Regions from separate parts of the Homo sapiens genome. Here regions 2, 3, 4, 5, 6 and 7 are each linked to region 1. The links are contacts of gene promoters, found by promoter capture Hi-C in human tissues and cell types (Jung and others, 2019). All regions are on one chromosome and are shown on one strand. Each heading gives the region's core, a stretch centred on a gene start or on the middle of the fragment in contact. The rest is flanking DNA. Distances are from core to core; before and after follow the strand shown.

What was found. Contacts are between HindIII fragments. The study calls those that stand out against the background at their distance.
Region 2: a fragment that was not itself captured here is called in contact with the fragment with the promoter of NRP1 in region 1 in 1 of the 25 tissues and cell types used here (dorsolateral prefrontal cortex).
Region 3: a contact is called between a fragment that was not itself captured here and the fragment with the promoter of NRP1 in region 1, in 2 of the 25 tissues and cell types used here (aorta and heart left ventricle).
Region 4: a fragment that was not itself captured here is called in contact with the fragment with the promoter of NRP1 in region 1 in 2 of the 25 tissues and cell types used here (H1 embryonic stem cells and heart left ventricle).
Region 5: a contact is called between a fragment that was not itself captured here and the fragment with the promoter of NRP1 in region 1, in 2 of the 25 tissues and cell types used here (IMR-90 fibroblasts and hippocampus).
Region 6: a contact is called between a fragment that was not itself captured here and the fragment with the promoter of NRP1 in region 1, in 1 of the 25 tissues and cell types used here (H1 embryonic stem cells).
Region 7: a fragment that was not itself captured here is called in contact with the fragment with the promoter of NRP1 in region 1 in 1 of the 25 tissues and cell types used here (lymphoblastoid cells).

What each region holds. Positions count from the first base shown.
Region 1 is chr10:33,333,328-33,336,168 of GRCh38, reverse strand. NRP1 (neuropilin 1) reads left to right here and starts at 1,502. Exons shown (of 17, transcript NM_003873.7): 1 at 1,502-1,859. The coding sequence starts at 1,787. The HindIII fragment of the contact is 10,676 bases long and covers 1-2,841 here.
Region 2 is chr10:34,327,184-34,330,024 of GRCh38, reverse strand. The region is part of intron 19 of PARD3 (par-3 family cell polarity regulator); the gene reads left to right. Among named protein-coding and RNA genes, the nearest start is that of LINC02629, 420 kb to the right of the region's middle. The HindIII fragment of the contact is 4,130 bases long and covers 1-2,841 here.
Region 3 is chr10:34,237,584-34,240,424 of GRCh38, reverse strand. All of the region lies in intron 22 of PARD3 (par-3 family cell polarity regulator), which reads left to right. Among named protein-coding and RNA genes, the nearest start is that of LINC02629, 330 kb to the right of the region's middle. The HindIII fragment of the contact is 6,470 bases long and covers 1-2,841 here.
Region 4 is chr10:34,066,800-34,069,640 of GRCh38, reverse strand. No RefSeq gene overlaps it. Among named protein-coding and RNA genes, the nearest start is that of LINC02629, 160 kb to the right of the region's middle. The HindIII fragment of the contact is 4,166 bases long and covers 1-2,841 here.
Region 5 is chr10:34,048,767-34,051,607 of GRCh38, reverse strand. No RefSeq gene overlaps it. Among named protein-coding and RNA genes, the nearest start is that of LINC02629, 150 kb to the right of the region's middle. The HindIII fragment of the contact is 7,207 bases long and covers 1-2,841 here.
Region 6 is chr10:34,030,789-34,033,629 of GRCh38, reverse strand. No RefSeq gene overlaps it. Among named protein-coding and RNA genes, the nearest start is that of LINC02629, 130 kb to the right of the region's middle. The HindIII fragment of the contact is 4,838 bases long and covers 1-2,841 here.
Region 7 is chr10:33,990,800-33,993,640 of GRCh38, reverse strand. No RefSeq gene overlaps it. Among named protein-coding and RNA genes, the nearest start is that of LINC02629, 88 kb to the right of the region's middle. The HindIII fragment of the contact is 3,217 bases long and covers 1-2,841 here.

The DNA of each region.
Region 1 (2,841 bases), core at 253-2,752:
TGTGTGTAGACGCCAATCCCCAGGAGGCGTGTGACCTTTTCACCTTACCCACAAACTCCCTGGGAGGTGCCCCGTGGGCACTGACCCTTCTCCGGGGCCTGATCGGTGACCGCAACCTGTTTCTTCCCAGAAATGTCCTTGCTTTTCGCATCTACAAACGCTTCCTGCAGCACTTCTCGGAAAACCCTCGGGGACGGGCCTGGGGGGCATCCAGCGGGCTGGGGGCACGAGCCGCTGTGGGAAGTGGGGGTGGCAGGAGCTCCAGGGCCGGCGTGCACGTTGTCTGTGGCCGGGAGCGGACACTGAGAGGGCGCAGCGAAGAGCACCCCTCCCCCGCCACTCTTTCCCTCCCTCGGGATGCACAGAGAAACGGGGGCCGCCCGACCCCTGATTTCCACACCCCTCCCTAGCACCTGGGCTCCCAGACAAGGTTGGGCGGGGTCGGGCGGCGATTGCCCCCCTGCTTGGAAGGCGCAGCACCTCCCACCCTCCGGTGTTCCCTCTGCCCCAGAGGAACGGGCACCAAATCTCGGGAAACAATGAAGCCTCCGCGGCGCGCAGAGGGCACCCAGCCGCGCGCCCTGATGCGGGCCAGGGAGGCCGCGTGGGGCTGCAGCCCGGCCTCGCCCGCCCAGGCGGTCTGTCTTCGCTTCACACCACAGCGACACTGCTGCCCCTCGCCCGGCTTCGCGGTGCGGCTCCCACTCCAGCCCGGCTTTCCCCTCCTCGCCCTCCAGCTCTGGGCAGGGGCGTCCAGGGGTGCCCCGCTGCTCCCCGCCACAGGTCTCAGGATGGCGCGATGAGGAGTGGCAGGGGGTGACCCTGCGTTCCTCGCCGCCGAGGGCGCGGGCCCCGGGATTTGAAGTTGCGAGAAGCAGCCGCCACCTCCCGGGCGCTCCGCACTGCGCGGCGGCGGGATCTGCGCCTGCAGGAGCTGCCCAGCTCTCCCTCTAGGGGTGCAGAGCGAGCACGCGAGGTGGGCTGGCCAGACCCTGCGGCTGGCACTGACCTCCGCGCCCCTTCCTCCGACGCCCGCACCCACGCGACCGGGGCGCAGACTCCCAGCGCCTTCCTTCCCGCGGAGATCCCTGCAGGGTCTCTGGGAAAGACAGACAGACGGACGGGGAGAGCACTCGGAGGGAAAGTTGTTCCTCCCAGTCTCCTGTCAGGCAATTACAGGCGAGCCCAAGCGGGGAGAGGGGCGGGAGGAAGCGAGGGAAGGGCTCCGGAGTGGGGGGAGGCCGCAGGAGGGGAGGCGGGGGTGCAGTTGGTGAAACTCCTCTGTCTCCCGCTCATCTTTTCATTGCTCGTTCCCCTCCTTCCCGCAGACACCCGGACCTCCCCTGGGCGCCAGCTCCGCGGCTCCAACGGGTCCAGAAACAAGCCGGATTTTTTTTTTTTCTTCCTGGAAATTGGCTTTGGTGTGTGTTGCCCTACCTCCCTCCTCCCCCTCCCACCCACAGCCCCCCCCCGGCCTTTTTTTTTTTTTTTTTTTTTTTTGAGACATGGCCCGGGCAGTGGCTCCTGGAAGAGGAACAAGTGTGGGAAAAGGGAGAGGAAGCCGGAGCTAAATGACAGGATGCAGGCGACTTGAGACACAAAAAGAGAAGCGTTCCTCTCGGATCCAGGCATTGCCTCGCTGCTTTCTTTTCTCCAAGACGGGCTGAGGATTGTACAGCTCTAGGCGGAGTTGGGGCTCTTCGGATCGCTTAGATTCTCCTCTTTGCTGCATTTCCCCCCACGTCCTCGTTCTCCCGCGTCTGCCTGCGGACCCGGAGAAGGGAGAATGGAGAGGGGGCTGCCGCTCCTCTGCGCCGTGCTCGCCCTCGTCCTCGCCCCGGCCGGCGCTTTTCGCAACGGTAAGTGACAGGCAGAGGCGCGGGTGACAGCGGCGCCCCGGCTCCCAGCTGCCCGCCCCGGACCGGGGCTCAGGCGGGGCTTCCCGGGATCAGCCGGGAACAACCGACTCCCGGGCGAAGGAAACTTTTATCTGGGAGGAGAGAAGAAGAAATGAGATCAGGCGGTTTAGAGCAGGAGGATTTCAGGTCTTTGGGCTCCCTCCTGACGTTGATCCTTGGGCTGTGGGGCTTTTCCTTACCTCTGTTACAAGACAGAGCTGTCTACCTTCCCAGATCAGCATGCCAATTATCTTAATAATGTTTCCTCCCAAAGGCAATTAGAAGAGACTCCCTTTCAAAAATCTGATGGCTGTTGAAAGTTAATGAACACTTTACCAGGAGATCTTACTTCCTGGTTCCTTTGCTGCTCCCCTAAGCCGTTTCCTCTGGTGGGTGACGGCCAGAGATATCGGTTTGTGGGTTGATGAAACTCCCTCCCCCGCCTTTGTACACCTTCCGTAATCTGTCTGGAGTATGACTGAAAGTTACATAGTATCAATACAGGAATCTGACATATACAGTGTAAGGCACCAGGATATCTGAAAATCCCTAAGCTAGTTGCAGCTTCCACTTAGCTTTTAAAATCACTCACTGTTAAGTAAATGAAAAACTATACTGGGGTCTAAACAGTACCATGTAACCTAAATAATGTGTTTTAAAATGGGATCTGGTTGTAGGCATGTTTGACTTCACACTGTAAAGTAAGTGCAGGCAAGGGTATGCAATTATCTTTACAGTAAGTCGTCAGCAATTGTTATTAACTAATGATCAAATATTTACTTTTGTCTGGCTTAGATTTCAATCACAGTAATTAGAAGAAAAGAACATCCACTACTTACTGTGGTATATTGTTTTAATAAGAGACCGCAAGTGGAGGGCCTCATACCAACAGGAATTTAAATCACATCTTTATGATGGAAGTTAATCTCTCTAATATGCTTTT
Region 2 (2,841 bases), core at 223-2,722, 990 kb before region 1:
AGTGGACCACTTCTATCACATATACCTAAGAAAGACTTTCGTGGGAAGAAGAGTTTTAAGTAATAAAGATCACATTTTGAGAATATATACATATACATATAATGTATATGTATATATACGTTAATATACATTGCTTATACGTATAATGCTTATACATATAATGCGTTTGGGAAGATGAATATTTCTGTCATAATGTAATATGCGAAGCATAACTTAGAGGATTGCTACACTTCTCTCCACCTCCACCTGATTCTCCATCTAAATCCAGGCAGTTTTGTCACTATGATCAGATTCCTCACAACTGGGCCTTTCCAGGCCCAGTTTTTCCCTTTTGGCGGCCTCTCCAGGCCCAGAACTTCCTTAGGTCAGCCTCTCCAGACCCAGTTGCAGCCTCCTGGTGTCCTCTCCAGGCCCACCTCTTCCTCCCGGCTGTGAATATATGCAGCCCATTCTTGCAGGATGAGGAGCATATTTACTATTTTTGCTGCCAAACCTGGTCTCCAAGATCCTGAGTCATATAAGCTTTCGACCCTATTGAGTTTTTTCTCTTTGTAATAATGGTTCCTTGCCATCCTAATCAATATTACTTGACAATTATAGAGCTTGCTTCTCTCTGTCTTGGGTGTATATTTAATCAAAAATTACTATGCTTTGGCCCCTTGATATATATTTTTTAAGTATCTATAATGATGCTTTTGAACTTTTTTCTTGTTCTGGTTAAAATGTTATTTAATTTTCCTTAAAAAATGCAGTTTGCTCTTATAATATTTCACTCATTTCAAATGTAACAGGAGATAGAATACATATGAATATAAGGTATATTTTTAATTCTGTAGGGATAGCCTCCAGAGTGTCCCACCAACATGGACATCTGATTTTGTCCCTATATAAACTTATTTTTTAAAAAACAAAATGAGAAATAACAGTATATTAAAGTTCATTCATGTATCTGTCCTTCAGAGAAAAAAAGTGAAATGAAACACATGGATAGGCAAATTACAATTTGCAAACCAAAGATAAAGTTCTGGACAAGACCTGGGAAATACACGTGTGGCAGGTGCCCTAAAACACGCTGCACCTACAACCACCAAATGTTGTATTTTTCAAAAGTCCTGTTTTTATTATTTTTTGCATACCAGTCTTCTGAACTTTGCATATGGCAAATGAATGGCAACTATTGTAAATTCCAAACTTTTCCAATTTTGGTTGTTGAAATCGTGTTTATAGGGTGGAATGAACACAGAAGTGGAATTCAGGTGACTTGCATCCTCCTCTACATTCTTCTAAGTAATTTGGGATTTTAGTCAAAACTTCAACTGCTTGAGCTTTAATTTCTTCATTTGTAAAACTGAAGATTTGGACTAGATAATTGACTTTCAACTGGTGTGTTGTGATCTCTGGTCAGGAGCAGTACCTCAATGGGTTTGGAGAGTGGGAAAGGCCACCAGTGTCACCTTCCCCCCACCACCACCTTCACAGTTGTTTTACTCACTTCTGTACATGGGGATCCTTTGTAAATTTTAGTTTTTAAAAAGGGTGTTTTTGAGTATTTAGGAAAAAGTTGTAAAAGTTCTGGCTTAGATGGTTTAGATGGTTTCCGAAGTCCTTCCTAGTTTAACATTCCATGATTCTATGTACCCCCTCACTGCCCTACTTCTGGCACGCTAACCCCCTCACCTTTTGCGAGGCCCATGTGGAAAACACCCCATCTATTTCCATCTTGCATTACCAAACACAAAGCTTGGCAAATCATAGAATTAAATAAATGTCTGCCAAATCGATGAGTGGGTGAGTGAGGTATCCCACACTGGACCTTGTATGCACTAGATCTTCAATACTTCAGCAAACTCTTTGTTTTTGTTTAAAAAAAAATTGTCTATCAAATGTGGTGTTACTGCTGGTGGCTGTCAGCTTACATAAAACTGAAGACGCGAAGGCACTTTCTGCCTCCAGCTTTGGAAAGAAGGCTGGCTCAGTTAGCCCTCCTTCGGCTTCCTAACCACACCATTTTCAGCGTCTGGCTTGTGGACCTGCACAGCGGAGTCTCTGGACTTGCTGTCTCTGTGGCTATGCTCCTGCATTTTTGCCCTTCTGGGCTTGTCCCTTAGCTATGTGTCCCCTGGCTGCATGTCCAACATCTTCTATTGTCTGTGCTAAGTGGGCCTCAGGGGAAGTGGGTTCTTTCTTGTCCCGATGGTCCAACTCAGTTACAGCTGCCCGTAGAAATTAAAAAGCCACATCCCCCTTGAACCTGGATCTGAAAAGAGGACCCTCGTCTAGGCAGATGGTCTTTTTGTCACATGGGACATTTCCTGAGGATGCAGTGCACCCTGGAAATGCGTGGCTAGAGACTGAGCCATTGTGGAAAAGCTAGTTATGGAGGTCAGCAGGAACAGAGAGCTCCTTGCACCGTGCTGCAGGCTCTGATTTCTATCATCATGTGGCACTTTTCCTCTTTACAAGTAAGACACATAGGCGTAGGCATGGTTGATTGCTTTTGTCAGTTGGGTCGAGCCCCTCCCCAGTGACTATATTCATGGCACTGAACAGGCTGGCCTCTTCTCAGCAGTGTGGAAATCATGGCATGGGCACAGCAATGGGGCCAAGAGACTGGGGTGGGATCCATGTGGTATCTGGTATCTGTCATCTTCTGCAGCACTTACATTCTTCCTGTGGAGATGGCAGAAGCCAGCATTTTTGTGTCTCATTTAATCCATCTGGCCTCTCCATGTTGTGTGCGTCTGTCTGGATCAAGATGGAGCTTTGTATTCTGGGACCCATTATCTCCGAGGCCCTACCTGTGTTTGACAGGTCAGGGCATTGACAATCTGCTCCCTCTTC
Region 3 (2,841 bases), core at 170-2,669, 900 kb before region 1:
AACTTACAAAACATAGGAAAGGGAAAAGATCATCCAGCCCCCAAAACAATAATTTTTAATATTTTAGAGTATATGCTTAGACACATACAGTTATTTGCACATCTGTACTTACTCAGAACTGAAAATAAAATCATACTCTACATAACTCTTTAGTAATGTGCCCTCTTACCTAATAAGTCACGAACATCTTTCCAGACCACGCTGTATTCTCTTACGAGAACATTTTTTAAGTGGCTGCATGATCTTTCATTTTATGGATTTATCTCGATCAAGTTGCTTAACCTCTAAGCCTCGGTTTCTTGGTCTGTAAAAGGGAATCATAATTGTGCCTTAAACAACCTAAAGGAATTAGACGGGGGTCATACGCTAAATCACTGAGAATGTTCCTGTCACATAGGATTGCTCAGTGATTGTTAGCTGCTGCTTCTGTTTATCCAATTTCCTACTATCTTGTAACAACTTAAAATGAACTATGACAGATGTCCATGATCTATCCTATTTCCTGCCAATAAAATATTTTTAAACTCTAAAAATACTCATATTTTTTCATTTTCAGATAATATTATCAAAAGATGGTAGGGTATTTCTACTTAAGGCAAACACCAATTTTTTTTTTTTTTTTGAGATGGAGTGTCACTCCATTGCCCAGGCTAGAATGCAATGGCGCGTTATTGGCTCACTGCAAACTCCACCTCCTAGGTTCAAGTGATTCTCTTGTCGCAGTCTCCTGAGTAGCTGGGATCACAGGCACACGTCACCATGCCCGGCTACTTTTTTGTATTTTTAGCAGAGATGAAGTTTTACCAGGTTGGTCAGGCTGGTCTCAAACTCCTGACCTCAAGTGATCCACCCGCCTCGGCCTCCCAAAGTGCTGAGATTACAGGCATGAGCCACCATACCAGGCCCACAAACACCAATTTTTAAAAACTTTGGTTTTAGCAGAAAGATCTTAGGGGAACCAGGATTCCATCTGAAAGTAGACTTCAGCCCACTTCTCTCAGTCTGTGTCTGCCTCTGCCTTGACACTTCTTCCCCTGAGCCCTCTGCTCAAGGCGGAGGCTCCGCTTTTGGTACTGATGTCCACCAGGCTGTTTCAGAAAGAAGCCAGTGAGCACCCTTCCATCGGCCACCGTGCCTAGAGCTGTTCTCCACATTCTCTTTTTGCTTATCCTCTCAGCACTCAGTGGGCTGCCAGCCTCAGGATGGTGTTAGATTAAAGAAATGGCCTATCAGAGCTTAGTAATTCACCAGTTCTCTTTAAGAATTCACATGACCTTAAATAAAATGTTCGATTTAACTTAAAACAAATCATGTCAAGCATGTAAGCAAACAAATTCCGAAATGGTGAACTGTTTCTCTTATTTTAGATTATTTTCTTAAAATACCCATCTGTATTTGTAATGAAGGTCTATTCTCCTTTTAAAATATGTCAGTGCTCTTAAACTGGTGGCATGAGGAAGAAAAAAAAGTTTAAAATAAAATATGTCAGTGTTAAATTTCTATTCTGAAGTTATGTATATTTAAAACCATGTATATTCATGGCTGTACAGTGCAGTTATTAAGAGCTGGAAAAAATGCTGCTTATTTTTAATCAGGTTGACACAGTGGATTTATTAGGATTTTCCTCCATTTTATGAGTTACTCAGAATCTTTCTTATAGGAGGTGGAGTGAGTTAGAAGAGAGACGTATTCCTTCAGGTTAGAGTCATCTTCCAAGTGAGTGTCTATTCCCGTCACCACTGTTTCTCTGAGATTTTAAAGTGTTCAGCACTGCATGGTTTTTTAAAAAGCATTTCCTGTGATTTTCAAAATATTTTCTTAGGCTTTTTTTTTAAGGGCATGTATTTCTCTTTCTTAGTCAAAACCGATTGTTGGCTACCAGCTTCTTTGTCTGGGACCCCTATGTGTGGGAGATGTTTGGGACTAAGGGAGTTTGTTAGCCCTACTGACATTTGTATTGTTTAAGTGGAACTAGCTATTGAAAAATGCTAACACAAAACCTCAGCTATTCTTTTATTAATGTATTAAAAATTCTGACCAAATTAAAACAACCAGGAGAGCCTTGTTGAGCCTGAATCTGTTAGGCTATGAAATGCACCCTGGGTTTTGAGGAAGAAGTGAGCACATTTATAGCCTTAATTACTCATTTGGGATACTACAGTCTGTTGCCAAAGCCAGTTATCATCAGCTTTGATTAGAAATCAGGAAAGACAGCTGCTGAAATGCAGAGTGAAAAGAATTGTATTGGATTAGAGTGGCGTTCTTTTGAATCTGAAAGAGAAGGAAAGCATCTTTGGGAAACATCTGAATATGCATTTATTTTAATAATTCAATGGCTAGAGGTGGAGTACAGTACATTGTAAGTTGGAGTGGTTTTCATTATTAAATTAAGTGCCTTTGTTTAGTTCATCTAGATTTTCCTATTGGCTGCTGCTTTTTTCTCTTTTTGCTCCATTTTGATGCAATGTTATATTCCTATTTGTGGGTTGAAATATGTCAGTATTCATAAACTAAATTCATGGACCACCCTTCCCATCATTTGGCCTGATGAAACACCATTTACCAGTGTGAAGCCAAGCCAGGAGACGCATATAAAATACTGCATCCAAATGCTAAGTTTAAAAAGACAACATGCTTAATTCCCAATCCTACGTACATGGAGAAGTACTACTTTGAGCTTTATTATTTTAACAATGTAATGTGGGGTTATAATATATATCAGAATAATGTCCTAATCAAATGTCCCTGAGTAAATCAAAATTTCAGAGTTATATTCACTTGTATATGTTCATAGTTTATGTAATCAAAAGATGTGTCAGGAAGATTTACTTCCTGCCTTTT
Region 4 (2,841 bases), core at 148-2,647, 730 kb before region 1:
AGGTTAATATTGTTATATGTGAATTTGATCCTGTCATTATGATACTAGCTGGTTATTTTGCCTGTTAATTGATGCAGTTTCTTCATAGCATCAATGGTCTTTACAATTTGGCATGTTTTTGCAGTGGTTGGTACTGGTTGTTCCTTTCCATGTTTAGTGCTTCCTTCAGGAGCTCTTGTAAGGCAGGCCTGGTGGTGACAAAATCTCTCAGCATTTGCTTGTCTGTAAAGGATTTTATTTCTCCTTCACTTATGAAGCTTAGTTTGGCTGGATATGAAATTCTGGGTTGAAAATTCTTTCCTTTAAGAATGTTGAATATTGGCCCCCACTCTCTGGCTTGTAGGGTTTCTGCCAAGACATCTGCTGTTAGTCTGATGGGCTTCCCTTTGTGGGTAACCTGACCTTTCTCTCCGGCTGCCCTTAACATTTTTTCCTGCATTTCAACCTTGGTGAATCTGACAATTATGTGTCTTGGGGTTGTTCTTCTTGAGGAGTATCTTTGTGATGTTCTCTGTATTTCCTGAATTTGAATGTTGGCCTGCTTTGCTAGGTTGGGGAAGTTCTCCTGGATAATATCCTGAAGAGTGTTTTCCAACTTGCTTCCATTCTCCCCGTCACTTTCAGGTACACCAATCAAACATAGATTTGGTCTTTTCACATAGTCCCATATTTCTTAGAGGCTTTGTTTTTTTCTTTTCACTCTTTTTTCTTTAATCTTGTCTTCTCACTTTATTTCATTAATTTGATCTTCAATCACTGATATCCTTTCTTCTGCTTGATCAAATCGGCTATTGAAGCTTGTGTATGCTTCACGAAGTTCTCGTATTGTGGTTTTCAGCTCCATCATGTTATTTAAGCTCTTCTCTACACTGGTTATTCTAGTTAGCCATCCGTCTAACCTTTTTTCAAGGTTTTTAGCTTCCTTGCAATGGGTTAGAACATGCTTCTTTAGCTCGGAGAAGTTTGTTATTACTGACCTTCTGAAGCATACTTCTGTCAACTCATCAAGCTTATTCTATGTCCAGTTTTGTTCCCTTGCTGGCAAGGAGTTGGGTTCCTTTGGAGGAGAAGAGGCATTCTGGTTTTTGGAATTTTTAGCCTTTCTGCTCTGGTTTCTCCCCATCTTTGTGGTTTTATCTAACTTTGGTCTTTGATGTTGGTGACCTGCAGATGGGGTTTTGGTGTGGATGTCCTTTTTGTTGATGTTGATGCTCTTCCTTTCTGTTTGTTAGTTTTCCTTCTAACAGACAGACCCCTCAGCTGCAGGTCTGTTGGAGTTTGCTGGGAGTCCAGTCCAGACCCTGTTTGGCTGGGTATCACCAGTGGAGGCTGCAGAACAGCAAATATTGCTGCCTGATCCTTCCTCTGGAAGCTTCATCCCAGAGGGGCACCTGCCTGTATGAGGTGTCTGTTGGCCCCTCCTGGGAGGTGTCTCCCAGTCAGGCAACATGGGGGTCAGGGACCCACCTGAGGAAGCAGTTTGTCCATTATCGGAGCTCAAACGCTGTGCTGGGAGAACCACTGCTCTCTTAAGGGCTGTCAGGCAGGGACGTTTAAGTCTAGAGAAGCTGTCTGCTGCTTTTTGTTCAGATATGCCCTGTCCCCAGAGGTGGAGTCTATAGAGGCAGTAGGCCTTGCTGAGCTGCAGTGGGCTCCGCCCAGTTCAAGCTTCCCTGCAGCTTTGTTTACACTGTGAGCATAAAACCACCTACTCAAGCCTCAGCAATGGCAGACGCCCCTCCCCTCACCAAGCTCCCATGTCCCAGGTTGATCTCAGACTGTTGTGTTAGCAGTGACCACGGCTCCATGGACATGGGACCTGCCAAGCCAGATATGGGAGGGAATCTCCTGGTCTGCTGGTTGCGAAGACCATGGGATAAGCACAGTATTTGGGCAGGAGTGTACTGCTCCTCCAGGTACAGTCACTCAGGGCTTCCTTTGCCTAGGAAAGGGAAATCCCCCAACTTCTTGCACTTCCCAGTTGAGGTGATGCCCCACCCTGCTCACCCTCCATAGGCTGTGCCCACTGTCCAACCAGTCCCAATGAGAAGAACCAGGTACCTCAGTTGGAAATGCAGAAATCACCCATCTTCTGCATTGATCTCATTGGGAGCTGTAGACCAAAGCTGTTCCTATTCGGCCATCTTGGACGCATCCACCAACTTTTTAAACTATCTGTTGTGAATGATGTGTTTCTGGCTGTCTAGAGTCTCAACTTTCTGATCATGTGAGGCTTGGGTGGAGGAGGTACCTCACCTGTGACTAACAATGTTTTAGGGGCCACTTACTCCCTCTCCCTACTTCCTGGATAATGGGGTGCAGGTAGAAGATCCAGGACTGGCAATCAATCAGATGCTCTCCTGGCAATCAGATGAGGAAGTGGGCTGAGTAGGGTGGTTCATGCCTGTTGTTCCACATTTTGGAAGGTCAAAGTGGAAGGAACAACTGAGCCCAGGAATTTGAGACCAGACTTGGCAACAATAGCAAGATGCTGTCTCTACAAAAATTTTTTTTTAAAAATTAGCCAAATGTGATGGTGTGTACCTGTAGTTCCAGCTACTTGGGAGGTTGTGGTGGGAGGATTGCTTGAGACCCAGAGTTAGAAGCTGCAGTGAGCTATGATCATGCCACTGCCTTCCTGCCAAGGTGACAGAGCAAGATGACCCTGTCTAGAAAAAAGAAAGAAACAAAAAAGTTTAAACAAACCCTAAATAATAAAAAACTTTGAGGAAGTGCATCCAAGACAGAGCCAAAGTTGAAGAATGATGAGTGCAGCAGGAAGATGTGCTGCCTGGCTTGGAAGCAGTGGTGGTGCTGGGCATGTCCTGGTGACAGTGGTGA
Region 5 (2,841 bases), core at 106-2,605, 720 kb before region 1:
CAACTCTTGCTCTACCCCACCTGATAGCTCTAAGACTACATAGTTCAGGGAAGGGAAGGAAGAGGAAGGGCCACACCACATTTTATAATTTGGATTACAAGTCTTTTCTTAGTTGGAAAGATTATCTCAGTTAGTTTGAATCAGTCCCAAACTTGAGCTGGCTTCAACCCCATCCTTAGGATGAGACAGAAGCTTCCGTACTACACTGTGATGCTTTTGCTGTGGTTCTAGTGAAATAGCACCCTCTATTTTCTCTGAGTGGAGCACCAGGAGCAGAGGTTTCCTTCCTAGCTGCACACTGTTCACCAACTGCATTTTGAGTGCTCTTTTTCTCCTCCCTTTTCTTTGCTTCTGTATCCCAAATCCAACAACCAACCAACCAACCAAGCAATCAACCAACCAACAAACCAACCAAGCAATCAACCAACCAACAAACCAACCAACCAATCAACCAACCAACCAGCCAACTAATCAACCAACAACCAACAAACCAACCAACCAAAAGAACTTTCACAACCTTCAATGCTTCCTGCTGATGCAATGGTAAAGGATAATAACACTCTGGTTTTAAGTGAGAAACACACAAAAACCATAGCTCCTTTTCATTCCAAGTGTTACCTAAAAGACTACCATCTCACTCAGCCTCTTCATTATATCTGGCTGTTTCTTTCTTTCTTTCTTTCTTTTTTTTTTTTTGAGATGGAGTTTTGCTCTTATCACCCAGGCTGGAGTGCAATGGGGAGATCTCGGCTCACTGCAACCTCTGCCTCCTGGGTTCAAGCAATTCTCCTGCTTCAGCCACACGAGTAGTTGGGATTACAGGCGCCTGCCACCACGTCCAGCTATTTTTTTTTTTTTTTTTTTTGTATTTTTAGTAGAGACAGGGTTTCACCATGTTGGCCAGGCTGGTCTTGAACTCCTGACCTCATAATCTACCTGCCTTGGCCTACCAAAGTGCTGGAATTATAGGCGTGAGCCACCATGCCCAGCCTCTGACTGTTTCTTGATGTCTCACTACAACCATACCCTCCTTAGAGGAACGCTCTGCTCTTATTGTTTCTACCCCTTTTGGGTGGGCTATTTAAGCATACACGCTTGCCCCCCATAGATGCAGAGACATATGTTATATAAGTGTGAGGAACTGCACCGAAGTCATTATTCCACATCACGTTTCTGCTTTGCTGCCCACCGGCTTCTTGGTTTCTTGGCAACATTACTCATCCATTTCAGAATAAGGCTTATACTTAAAAGCATGGTCCTGGTTCCTTGTATTCAGAAGTGTAAAATAAAAGCAGATATTTGGTAAAAGCTTTCTGCAATAATAGGAACTTTAGACTGTTGTCTTCACATAATTCCTTTCAAAAGCATTACTAACGTATGGGTTAGCATTGATGTAGGCAATGTCGCTTGAAGTGGGAGGAATGATATTTACAAAATTCTCTTAGTTGTTGACGTTAGTTTCCTGGATTTTTTTCTTTTAAACAAACCTTAATGGAACAAATGAGATGACAAAATACGCTGAAAGCATCTGAAACACGAGATCCACCTACACTTAACCTCCAGAAATCATCTCGACAAGCCTGAATGCTTGTTTGCAGTGGGCGTCTCCAAGGCTGACTCACAACTCCTGCTCTGAGCTCAGGACCTCCGCGCTGATCCCTCACACACTCTCATCTTTTGCCTTGATGTCATCCAGCAAGGCTAAAGCAAGCCCCCTCTCAACTGTTCCGAACCCCTGGAACTTCTCTCAAATGAGTTTGGTTTTTGAATGGTGCCTGGAGGGAAGAATTTCCTAGCACTTGATTTACATTATTTTCCTACTGTGCTTTAGATATCATTTTAAAAATTCCATTCACACGACGAGAGGAAATAGTTTCAAGAAAGTAAAGGGGCTGAAAATCTATCTCCTCTGCATATCCCTAGTTCCCACTCTGCCCCACTGTCAATGACTCACAGAATCAGACCAGCAGGCGTGGCCAGAATGACCCTCTCTGGAGGCAACAAAGATGATTTTTTAAAAATTTTTAGTTTTTATGGGTACATAGTAGATGGATATATCTATGGAGTACATGTGATGTTTTGAGACAGGCATAGAGTGCATAATGCATCAGAGTAATTGGGGTATCTATCACCTCAAGCACTTGTCATTTCTTTGTGCAAAGATGATTTTTTAAAAACTAGATGAGAAGGGGATGTGGCTCTTTCAAGTGGCTTCATTCTTCTCCCCTTGTAAACGGCAAATTTGCTTCTCAGAGTTGGACGGAATGTGTTAAGAGTGTTGGGCATATGGCCTTAGTTTTCACTCTGTAGGCCATTGCTTTTCAGGAGAGAAATCTGGGTAGCAAGACAGTGTGCTTCATGGATGAGAAGGTGCCAGCAACTCAGGGTTCTCCTGGCAAGGAGGGGTGGTCGTTCCCAAGCAGGGGAGGTGCAGGGCATTGAGAACATCAGTGCTCAGAGTTCCTTAGGGAAGCTGGAGCCGTAATGTCCTAATTTTTCACAAGGCTAAACTGATAGAATTTGTAGACAGCAAAGTGCTTAAATTAAATCCAGCTCAGTCAAGTATGTCTAGAGATGTCCCTTGAAGAGATGCTTAGAGAAGTGATCAATATGGTCTGATCATGATCCTTAATGGGGCTGGTTTTCAGACTGGTGTGGAGAGAAAATGACTATTGTTTTGAAATTGGACAGCTCATGATGAAGTACCTGTTCTTTGTGTGTGAACCCGCACTCTGTTGATTGACAGGGGCAATGGACCAAGCTGCCCCGGTGAGCTGGTCCAACAGAAAAGACTTGTCCTTGGCCATGTGACATGCCCACCATTGCCTGACTGATAGGCTG
Region 6 (2,841 bases), core at 218-2,717, 700 kb before region 1:
CAGCCTGGGCACTAAAGCAAGACACCATCCTTACAAAAAATAAATTAGCCAGTCATAGTGGTGCACACCTGCAGTCCCAGCTACCCCAGAGGCTCAGGCAGGAGAATCCCTTGAGCCCAGGAGTTGGAGGCTGCAGTGAGCTATAATTACACCACTGCACTCCAGCCTGGGCGACAGAGTGAGACCTTATTTCAAAAAACAAAAACAAAAACAAACAAACAAACAAAATAAAATAAAATTGTTGGGTGGGGGAACCCTACCTGCTTGTAGGACGCCTCCCAAGCATGGTGAGTAATGCCATTTCTAAGAGGCCCATTGCGTCATTCCAGCCCCTGTGGCCACTCCTCATCCCCTACACACCTCTCACTGAAGGCAGGCACGTGAGGTTAGTCACTGCCCCTAAAGAACTCACGTGTCTTCACTCTTCTGTGGCTATGCTCAGGATCTCCCCTGCCAGGAAAGTCTGTTCTTCTGCACTCTCACTTAACCCTGCTTCCTGCAACCCCCCACCCCCACCATACATACCTGGTATCTAGGAAAACCCTAGCTCCCACTCAAAGCCCAGGGTAACATCACTTCCTAAATTAACCTTGACCCTGCCTCCCTCCACCAACCCCACTTCCGGGAACAATCATGCTCGTGGGTGTTATAAGACTTAGGTCTGTTAAAAAACAATTAGACAATTAAATGTCTTTATTTTTATGTATTTATTTATTTTGTAGAGACAGAATCTTGGTATGTTGCCCAGGCTGGTTTTGAACTTCTGGCCTCAAGTCATCCTCCTGCCTCAACCTCCCAAAGCACTGTGATTATGGGCATGAGCATAGACAATTAAATTTAACAGAGCGAAGAACAATTCATGAATCAGGCGGCATTCAGAACCAGAAGAGAGGTCCACTCAGCAGCATGACCAGCAAGCTTTTATAGGATGAACAGAGAAGCGAAGTAGAGAAATCATCTAATTGGCTACAGCTAGGCATTTACCTTGTTTGGGCATGAGGTGATCAGTTGGCTGTCTATGATTGGCTGAAGCTTGGCTGTTTGTAACAGAAAGATATTCCTAAACTAGGTTTTTGTTTGTTTACTTACTAAGTTAGGTTACAGTTTGTTACATAGAAACTCAAAACATAGAGCCAGCCTCACATCAGTACTGATGCTGGTTCCATACTTTGGAGATAGCCATCTTCATCATCTTCATCATGATGAAGATGCATTGAGAACCTGTTAACTAAGCAGGAAGCCATTGGCCTGGTAAACTCATCCTTGCAATAGAGTTGTGCTTCCTGAAAACACATTCATTCCTGAATGAGAATGAAATGTCCTTCTCATTCTGGTCTTGCAGCTGGCATAGAGGTTTGTGTAGAGAAGTCATATAATTGACATTAGTTGAATTTAATGGAAATGATAAGAAAGTAATTCTTTAATGGTTGTTTGTCTATATGGATATATCTTAGGTATAAGATACTTATTGTGTTGTTATCCATGCTTCAAGAAGAATCCAATTAACAGGATTCCAGGAGGTATCCTGCAGGAAAGGCTGTCTAACAGTCTTTCATGAGTGCTTGAAAATCCATGACAGTTTATGTCTTTGCACCAAAACTTTCAACAACCATTTATGCATCTACTATGTGCTAGACACTGCCCTGGCTCTATGTCTACTGTTCCAGTGTAAGTTAGAGGTAGCAAGGAGGTTCAGAAGGAAATGCAGGAAGCCCAGCTACTTTGAGTCCTTTTGCCATTCCTATCCAGTTCACAGGGCCCCAAAAATATTCCAAGGTGAGAGCAAGTTTGGGATTCCCTCCAGGGAAAGAGAGGAGACACCATGGTGCAGAAATCTGTGACTGCTGGCAATGTTGAGCCCAAAGTGAGCTAATGCCTTTGTGCTTCTGAGAGGAAGGTCAACGGAGAGTGGAGGCGAGATTTCTCTTGTGCAGTGTAAGTGGGCAGTAGAAGGAAGAAGTGAGCTTTCACATCCTGTGCTTGGCATGAGGCCTCTGGAAGTGACAGACGTTCCAGGCCTTTTGCTTAAGACCTGATTGAGTCATATTTGGCCAGAGAGAAGCTCTGCAGCAGGGAAAATTTTGGCAAACTTTCATGATCCTTTGCCACAGATGGAAGTCACATTTTCATAGATAGAGGATGGTTAGGATGGGGAACAAGGCTCAAAAACAGAGACTCAAAGCCCATGCATCCACCCTCAAACTCTAAATCCCAATATATCCCTGGCACCCTGCTCTGCACTGTGCAAAAGTCACCATGACTCGGATGAGCACCTTATCCTTAAAGAGTCTGTGTAACACAACGCAGAGAAAAAGGCTAATATGCACCAGCAATTAATCGACTGCTCCAGTGAAGAAAGTTAAGTACTGAAATAAATGGCCCTTCCTTCTCTGGTCTATCACTTGCTTGGCCTGTGGAATATTCTGCAATGCAGGCCTGGGCTTAAGGGGAGCAGAGCCCAAGGGAGACCCCACTTGCACAGCCACACTAATCTCCTGTCTGCCCTCCAGCCATACCTGCCCTCTAGGCCAGATTGCCAAGGCCTGGTTGTAGGGTACAGTCCTATAGGAACATTCCCTGTGCTGGGAGCAAAGCCGGGCAGATGGAGATGTAAGAAGAGAGTAAACATCCATGGGGGAATCCTGCAGCTCAGGACACACACCTGATGGGTCTGAACCTCTCCAGGGACACTTGCTTGTCCTTACAGCCACTGATGAAATAGGAAAGATAATGGGAGAAAAATCACTGTGAACTATTCTGATAACATTTCTGACCCTTCCATCATGCACTCAAACTTTAAGTTCAATCATCTGTGTCTCTTGTAGACGCCACAGCAGGGCT
Region 7 (2,841 bases), core at 88-2,587, 660 kb before region 1:
AGATCGTGCCACTGCACTTTACCCTGGGCGACAGAGTGAGACTCTGTCTCAAAACAAAAACAAAAACAAAAAACAAACAAACAAAACTTATTCCTCCTAAATTTTTGTTTGTACCCATTAATCAACCTCTCTTTATCCCCCCACCTCCCATCCTTCCCAACCTCTGGTATTTATCATTCTACTCTCTACCTCCATGAGATCAACTTTTGTAGCCCCCATATGTAAGTGAGAACACATGATATTTGTTTTTCTGTGCTGGGCATATTTCACTTAACATAATGACCTCCCAATTCGAGTAATGATGTTTATTTTAAAGCAAAAAATTAAAATTCACTGGCATTGGATTTTGGGGAGCTAGGCCAATTATTTCCCAGAAATTTTAGAGATTTTGCAATTTAATTTGGCATGTTTTACACCTTTAGTTATAATAATAACTCAAGAAGACAACTTTAGTTATGCAAGCTTGTTTCCTCGGCCTTCTCTCTTCCACACCCTTGGCATGTCCTCCGTTGTAATTCCCATTGTCCTACCCATTTGGGACACATTGTCTGTTGATTGAAAAAGAAGCAATAGCAAATTTGGGAGCCAGCACATGTAGCCTCAGCTCCTAGGTGATCCCTGAGTCTTTTCCTGCAGCCCTGCCTTTGGAACTTCTTTCCTCGGCTTGCGAGTAGTCCTGGAGTATGGGAGAGACTTTGATCCCAGGAAGAAATTTTTTCTACAAGAGCATTACACAGGTAACTTCTCTTTAACACTCTGTTGCTTTTTGCTCTAAGACCAGAAGATGACTTGGAGGATTTTTTTTTTTTTTTTTTGAAATGAAGTCTCACTATGTTGCCCAGGCTGGCCTTGAACTCCTTGGATCAAGTGATCCTCCTATCTCAGCCTCTTGAGCAGCTGGGACTACAGGCACATGCCAGCATGCCCAGCTAACCTGGAAAATGTTTAAGAGTATATTTGTAGCCGCTGTTATTTGAAAACCTTCAGCAAAACTCCTTTGTTAGTAATATACACATTAAAATTACTCCATTTTCCTTTGGAGCCCAAGCCATTCATTGCTTTGCACCCTCTTAGCTATGATTGGCTTCAGGGTAACATACCACCTAGGATGACTCGAGTTAATACAGGAGTTTTTCAGGAATCATGGAAAAAGAACCTCTACCTCTCCACTGGCTTTGGGACTGTGAAGAGAGGTGAATGGAAATCTTGCAGAACTTCAAGTTGAAGAGAGAAACTAGATCCTGAGGACATTATATGAGCCCCTGTATCAGACCTCAACTGGAGCCTGAACTACTCTTGGCTTTTTAAATGATATGAGTCAATAAGTTATCTTTTATTATTTTTCTAATCTGGGATGAATTTTATGTCTCTTCCCACCACAAATCCTAGCTGATCCATTCAGGTGTGATTTGGACAGCAAGCAATGGGGCAAGGACAATTCAATCTCAGGCAATAGACTGTGAACAAAAGTGCAAAGTGTAGAAAATGCAGGGCGGAATTCTCAACAAAATCCCAGCCCAGCTGGTTGCCCTGGCAACAGCCGCCCTCCTTAAAAAAATAGAGAGAGAGAAGAAAATGCAAGGCCTGCTGAGGGTAGGTGGATGGCAACAAATTAGTGAAATTTTAGGGTACATGAACGAGAATAGAAAACAAGTATAGAAATTTTGGTTGAGATTTTGGTCATGGAAGATTTTGAAACCTAGGTCAAAAATTTATTTGAAAGAATAAGAAAAAAGGGGAATATTCTTCTTTATTGTGGAATATTATTCTTCAGAGTAAAATAAATGAATCTAAACTTCATGAAAATTGGTGAATGGATTTAATGAGGCAACTAGGCTGGGCAGAGTAGTTTGACATTTGCAGTAAGGCATAGACCATTAATAAGGTACATGTTGTAATCACCCTACAGAACCAGGATGAATCTTAGCCAAAATTTGACTTGGATGTTGAGACCGATGATGCCACACACACACTAAGAAGGTATGAGAACGTTTTTTTACTCACATAATGAGGCTTTCTAGGGGAGAGTAGAGTGGCTCCCAAGCAAGTCTAAAATTGGCTTGAGAGAACAGCAAAGAAAAGTGGCTTGGAGTTTTTATGGTGGTTAGTGAGTTGGGCAAGAGAAAGGGTTGTTTGCCTATGGTTTGAACTTCCCTCCAAGACCAAAAGAAGAGCACCTGGGATTTTTTGGCCCCTTTCATAGATAGATGGATGTATAGATAGACAGATGAATGGATGGATGGATGGATGGATGGACAGATAAATGGATGGATAGTTAGATGGATGAATAGATAGATGGAGAAAAGGACAGATGGATAGAAGCATAGATAATTGAATAGATAAATGGATGGATAGATTGATAGATGCATGAATAGACAGATGGATAGATGGATGGATACATAGATTGGATAGATGGATGGATAGATGGACGGATGGACGAATAGATAGATGAATAGATGGATAAAAGGATAGACGTAGATAGATGTATAGATGTAAGGATAAAGCTGTTTGACATGTTGTGGATGAGAAGGCTTTGGAACACTCATGGATATACCCTATGGTCAGAAGCTTGGGTTTGAGGTTGAGACATATATTTAGTAATTATCCTCATATACGCCATGGAAGTAGATAAAATGGCCAAAAGGGAAGTATAAGAGAGATAAGATAAGCAAAATGAAAATTTTGGGAGCTTTCCAAAGAATGAAAGTAAATTAAATGTGCCCAGAGAAGAATGTAGAGAAAAAAGAAGGGACGGAGCATGTTTCACGGAGGAGGGGTAACTGTTTTATAATGATGCAGAGAAGTAAAGGGGACGGGAATTAGAAAACTAGAGTACTCATG